Linked DNA regions of Homo sapiens: region 2 is linked to region 1. Evidence: promoter capture Hi-C in 16 types of primary human blood cells and fetal thymus (Javierre and others, 2016). All regions are on one chromosome and are shown on one strand. Each heading gives the region's core, a stretch centred on a gene start or on the middle of the fragment in contact. The rest is flanking DNA. Distances are from core to core; before and after follow the strand shown. Region 1 holds the start of RPS7 (ribosomal protein S7). Region 2 overlaps CCT7 (chaperonin containing TCP1 subunit 7).

What was found. The method cuts DNA at HindIII sites, captures the fragments that hold promoters and counts their contacts. A CHiCAGO score of 5 or more calls a contact.
Region 2: a fragment that was not itself captured here is called in contact with the fragment with the promoter of RPS7 in region 1 in 1 of 17 cell types (total B cells); the score reaches 6.7 in total B cells.

Annotation. Positions count from the first base shown.
Region 1 is chr2:3,573,791-3,576,717 of GRCh38, forward strand. It overlaps RPS7 (ribosomal protein S7), which reads left to right and starts at 1,470. Exons shown (of 7, transcript NM_001011.4): 1 at 1,470-1,560; 2 at 1,802-1,894; 3 at 2,027-2,098; 4 at 2,697-2,840. The coding sequence starts at 1,820. It overlaps LOC124907726 (a long non-coding RNA gene), which reads right to left and starts at 1,319. Exons shown (of 2, transcript XR_007086196.1): 1 at 345-1,319. RefSeq lists enhancers at 1,023-1,598, 1,599-2,175 and a silencer at 1,727-2,016. The HindIII fragment of the contact is 5,628 bases long and covers 130-2,927 here.
Region 2 is chr2:73,242,378-73,245,304 of GRCh38, forward strand. CCT7 (chaperonin containing TCP1 subunit 7) reads left to right here. Exons shown (of 12, transcript NM_006429.4): 4 at 627-752; 5 at 1,620-1,672; 6 at 2,167-2,338. Among named protein-coding and RNA genes, the nearest start is that of CCT7, 9.5 kb to the left of the region's middle. The HindIII fragment of the contact is 1,727 bases long and covers 509-2,235 here.

The DNA.
Region 1 (2,927 bases), core at 220-2,719:
AATGGTTTTCCCCTAAGATGGAGAACAAGGCACGGATGTCCTTGCTCACCACTCCTATTCAACAAAGGACTGGAAACCAGAAATAACTTTAATTTTTTTTGTTCTCAAGTGATAGGTTCACAGAGAAAAAGCTTTACTGGATGAACTTTTAGATTACTACTTTTATAGAGCAGCAGAGATAAAAGCCAGGTCGAAAAGTGCATGTGGAGTAAGGAAATGGACCTAGTTCGACAAAAGGGCTCAGAACGACTGCCCAGATGAGATTGTAGACGCAGCTGTAGTTTACTTTCTATCTGGAAGAAACTTCAAGTTATCCTTAATTTTCCAAGGAGACAGTCACTTACCTTTTAAAAAACATTATTAGAGAAGCACCGGGCGGGAGCATATCTAGCATTAAAAATGTGGGATGAATACCATCTCTGCTTGGTAAAGGTGGTTGGGAATCCTGAGAGAGGGCACCTAGTGTGGCTTCTGCATTTTTCACAGTGCCTGGACCACGGCTGAAAGTAACTCTTGCATGACATTTGACAGAAGAGGAAACCGAAGCTCAGATTAAATTCCCTGTCCACAGCGGGATCATTCGGCACGAGTTCCTCCCTGTCTGGAATGCTCTTCCCCAGCAATAGATCCTGCGGCTCTTCCGTGTCTCAGTCTAATGTCATTCCGTTCCAGGATTCCCGACTTCTTAAAGCATAAATAATCCCTCCCCACCCTCTCATTGTACTGTTATGTAAGTTATTACAATATGTCATTATATATTTAGTCATACTGCTTTAGGTAATGTCTTCTCCACTGAACTGTAAGCTCCATGAGGGCAAGAGTTCAGTCGGTTTTACTTAATAATTAGCACCTAGTACAGTACTAGCATAGAATGAAGGCCTCGCAATTTTTTTTAAATTTATTTTTAGACAGGGTCTTGCGCTGTCGCCCAGGCTGGAGTGCAGTGGTGCAACCTCGGCTCACGGCAGCCTCGACCTTTCGGCTCCAGCGATCCTCCCGCGTCGGCCTCCGGGGTAGCTGGGACTGCAGGCGCGCACCACCATGACTGGCTAATTTTTTTTTTTTTTTTTTTGTAGACATGGGGTCTCGCCATGTTGCCCAGGCTGGTTCCTGAGCTCAAGTGATCCTCCTGCCTCGGCCTCCCAAAGTGCTGGGATTACAGGCGTGAGCCTCAGCGCCCAGCCAAGTTAGCCTTTTTTAAACGTCCTGTCTCCGGAGGTTGCCGAAGTTGGTTTTCTTCGGCCTCCTTCTCTCTCCCAGGCCCAGGGCTGGGACGAGGCCGGTTCCCGCCTGCAACCTGCACTGAAGACGGGAACCTTGGGAGCCGGTACCGGAACGCTCGGAAACGGCACCAAAGTACGAATCCTAGGGCGGAAAAGCGTTACCAAGACACTCGTCCCCAGAGCCGCTTCCTGGGACTCTCTAGCCTCCTACCGCTTCTCAGTGATGTTCCGGTTTCCGCCCTCCTCCTCGCGCTGTTTCCGCCTCTTGCCTTCGGACGCCGGATTTTGACGTGCTCTCGCGAGATTTGGGTCTCTTCCTAAGCCGGCGCTCGGCAAGGTAGGTTGGCGGCCTGCTCTCCGACAGAACTTTTCTTCTTGGGTTGAGGAAAACGCCTTTTGGAGTCAGGCCCTGGAGGGGCGAGCCTTGCTCACAGGGTGGGGATACAGCCGATTACCCGCCCTGTGCTTTCCGATGGCTTCTGCGGGGCGAGCGGGGCCTGGCCGGGGGGTGCGGGCGGGAGGGCGAGCCAGCGGCGCCTGCAGCCCGGGCCGCGTAACGCTGACCGCTGTGCCTTCAGTTCTCCCAGGAGAAAGCCATGTTCAGTTCGAGCGCCAAGATCGTGAAGCCCAATGGCGAGAAGCCGGACGAGTTCGAGTCCGGCATCTCCCAGGTGAGAGGGTTTCCCTGGGGTCTGGGGTGGGGGGAGGCGCCCCGCCCGGGAGGGGAGGCGGCCGCGCGTGTGTTGGGCCCGGGGTGCTCGGACGCGCGCTCAGGGTCGGTCCTGCTGTTCGTTGCTTCTTAGGCTCTTCTGGAGCTGGAGATGAACTCGGACCTCAAGGCTCAGCTCAGGGAGCTGAATATTACGGCAGCTAAGGTAAGCTGGCGCTCCCTCGGCTGGGAGGGAGGTTGCGGCGCGTCTCCCCGCGCAGTGCCTGAGAGGGTTGGACCTGGGTTACGGTTGATGATGACTTGCCGCCTGGCCGCCTAACCTGAACTCAGGTTCGGCCGTGTTGTTTGGGAGTGATACCGCCCAGGTGCGGGGAGTGGGGTTGCAGGTACCCTGCGGCTTAAGCTGTCCACATGCGGGCGGTGGAGAAACGTGGAGTAGGGAGGGCCTGGGCCCATTTCGGACCTTATTTGCCCTTACTTAGTTATAGATACGGCAAAGAGCTGTGGGGAGCTCAGGATGAGATTCTCTCTACCCTTAGCCCGGAGTTGCCGCAAGTGGGGGTGCAGAAGTGGTAGTGATTGGCCTCCTGGCCTGAACAGTCTCCCTTCCTGGAATAAGGAAATGTGAAGGTTGGAGAGAGATGAGAACATTTCCGAAGGATGCATTTATGATTAACTCAAAACTAGTATTAGTTTGTAGTGCAGCTACGGTGTTAGTGATAAGGTCTTCTTATCCTCTAATTTGACCACAACGTTTACTTTCTGAAGCAGTTAACACAGTGGATTTTTGTTTTTTTCTTTAGGAAATTGAAGTTGGTGGTGGTCGGAAAGCTATCATAATCTTTGTTCCCGTTCCTCAACTGAAATCTTTCCAGAAAATCCAAGTCCGGCTAGTACGCGAATTGGAGAAAAAGTTCAGTGGGAAGCATGTCGTCTTTATCGCTCAGGTATCTGTTCTACTGTTGCAGCACGTTTCTGTTTGTGAATTTTGCTAAAATTGCTTGTATTTAGACTGCATTGGTAGTTGGAGTCAT
Region 2 (2,927 bases), core at 122-2,621, about 70 Mb after region 1:
CAAGCAATTCTCCTGCCTCAGCCTCCTGAGTAGCTGGGATTACAGGCGCCCGCCATCACGCCCAGCTAATTTTTGTATTTTTAGTAGAGACAGGGTTTCACCGTGTTGTCCAGGCTGGTCTTGAACTCCTGACCTCAGGTGATCCACCTGCCTCAGCCTCCCAAAGTGCTGAGATTACAGGTGTGAGCCACCGTGCCCAGCCACCTTTTGCTTCTTAAACAATGTTTGTCTCTTGCTTCTTGGTACCATGATTATTTTAAGTATTGTATTACAATAAGCATGACAAGGACTGTTTTATTCATCACAATGCCTTGTACGTAACATAAGTTCTCAGTTCATGTGTGTAATTTTTTACCCTGAGGACATTTGATTGTCCACATCAGCCCTCTTTAGAGAATGGGGCTGTCTGGGGAATTAATTTGGTAGCCCAGGACTGTTTGACATGATGGATATGTAACTACCATTAGCTTCTTTCTACTTATTGCAAAAACCTGTGCTTCCAGAAAAAAGCTTGACATCCATTTAAATAATATTCAGTTTAAATGGGTAGCGTGCCTAAAAATGGAGTTTCAGGGCTTTATTCCCTGAACATCAGAAAACGTGTATTTCCTGTCATCATCTTCCAGGTGGGTGATGGCACCACCTCAGTGACCTTGCTGGCTGCAGAGTTTCTGAAGCAGGTGAAACCCTATGTGGAGGAAGGTTTACACCCCCAGATCATCATTCGAGCTTTCCGCACAGCCACCCAGCTGGTATGGCAGTACTGATTAACCTTCTCTTGGGCCTGGACACCTTCACATTTCTCTTAGGAAGGGGAATTTCTTTTCAGGAGTGTGGAGGGACTGGGGAACAGGGTACTTTGGGCATTTTCTGACATCTCCTTAGTAATCTCAGTTCTACTAATCTGTAGCCATTTGATGAGGTGTATTACTTAATCTCTTTAAGCCTCAGGTTAGAGTCAGCCTGGTAGACTATGATGTAGACATAGTCTTTTAGTAAGGACTAAGAGACTCATGGCATACTACTACTACATGCTATACTCAAGCACCTCATGGTGTATATTGAGACCTAGCTATTATTTGCCCTCTAACCTTCATTTGTGATCTGGGGCAAGTCATTTAATCTTTCTAGGCCTTACTTTCTTTGCTATCTCTAATTTGAGTGGTGACATTAAAATGAAATAATATATGAGGAGTACTTTGGAAAAAAATAAAAAGTTTATATATTTGTATGCATATTTTATATATAACTAATATATAAAGTGCTAGAAGTTGTCGTAGGTGTTTTTAGTAAACCAGGAGGTTTGGCTTAATCTCGTGTCACAGCTGTTTCCACTCATTCGTTGTAGCGTGTTACCTGCAGACCCAGAGCAAAATCTTGGAAGCACCCTGATTCTTCAGAACTGTATACCCACTCTGCATTTCTGACTTGGAATTTTCTGAACTATAGAGTTTTACATTTTTCTGAGCAGTTACAAGACCTAGAAGTGTTTTTTCAGCTGTAGAGTAGAAATGCTTAGGATTTGGGAGTGAACAGACTCAGGACTATTGAGAGATTGAGGTCCACTTCAGCAGTTTGTCTTTAGCATGAGAGACTCATTCAACTTCTGTTCTTGGCAGGCAGTTAACAAGATCAAAGAGATTGCTGTGACCGTGAAGAAGGCAGATAAAGTGTAAGTCTGTAGTGGGTTTTTTTTTTTTTTTTTAAAGAGACGGAGCCTTGCTGTATTGCCCAGGCTAGTCTTGAACTACTGGCTCAAGTGATCTCCCACCTGCGACTCCCAAAGTGCTGGGATTACAGGTGTGAGTCACCGTGTCAGGCCTTTGTCAGAACCTTGACTGACTTCCTGTGGCCAAATTGGATGCAGAAGCATGCTGCAATCCCTCTATGTGCCTGGGGCTGTTTGGCTCCTGCCAGACCCTTGGCTGTGTCCCAGCCCACAGAGCACAAAAGAAGCTGTCGACTGTAGTTTAAAAGCTGCCACATATGAGATCTTTGACTGCAGTCACCATCTGTCACTGATAATCTGCCCTAAAGATACAAAAGGTGAAGTTGGAGAGGGCTGAGTTTAGAGACTGGAAGGGAACTACCTCCACACTGTAGTAGAATCAGATAAGAGGGATTTGGTTTTCAAGACCTGATGCAGATTCTGCCCTTGTGTCCCAGGGAGCAGAGGAAGCTGCTGGAAAAGTGTGCCATGACCGCTCTGAGCTCCAAGCTGATCTCCCAGCAGAAAGCTTTCTTTGCTAAGATGGTGGTGGATGCAGTGATGATGCTCGATGATTTGCTGCAGCTTAAAATGATTGGAATCAAGAAGGTACAGGGTGGAGCCCTCGAGGTAAGCCTGCTGTGGCCTTCCTAGACAGCTCTTGCTTTCATATTGACCCTTCAGACAGCTTCATATGGCAGAGGGGTACTCATTACAGGAATAAAGAGAATGCATGTTAGGCAGGAAGTCAGACTTACATTGTACTTTCCATACTGCCATTAGAGGCTGTTACTAGATGAACTTGGTAACCTCTGTGGATATTATTTGTCAGCAGAGTAGAAAATTGGACTGTATGATTTTCAGAATCTCAGGTTCTCTGTGTCAGTGGGTGGTGGAGGGGTAGTAGGACTAGCTCAAATCATCAATGACCTCCCAATTAATACATCTGAGAGGGATTTTTCAGTTCACTGCTTACTCCTAAGTGATACTGTTAAGCTTGCCCTTCTTTCATTCATTTATCTTGAATAGATGATACATATTTCAAACTGTGAAGGGGCCTAAAGTTAAAAGTGTTTCATGCACTACCCCTGCCCCATATACAGCCACTATTAGTTTGTGTGTATCCTTGCAGAATTACTTTGTGCATATATGAACATGTATGTAAATACTGTTTTTTAAAGACAAAAGATTGCTTATATAGTGTTCTGTAGCTTGCTTT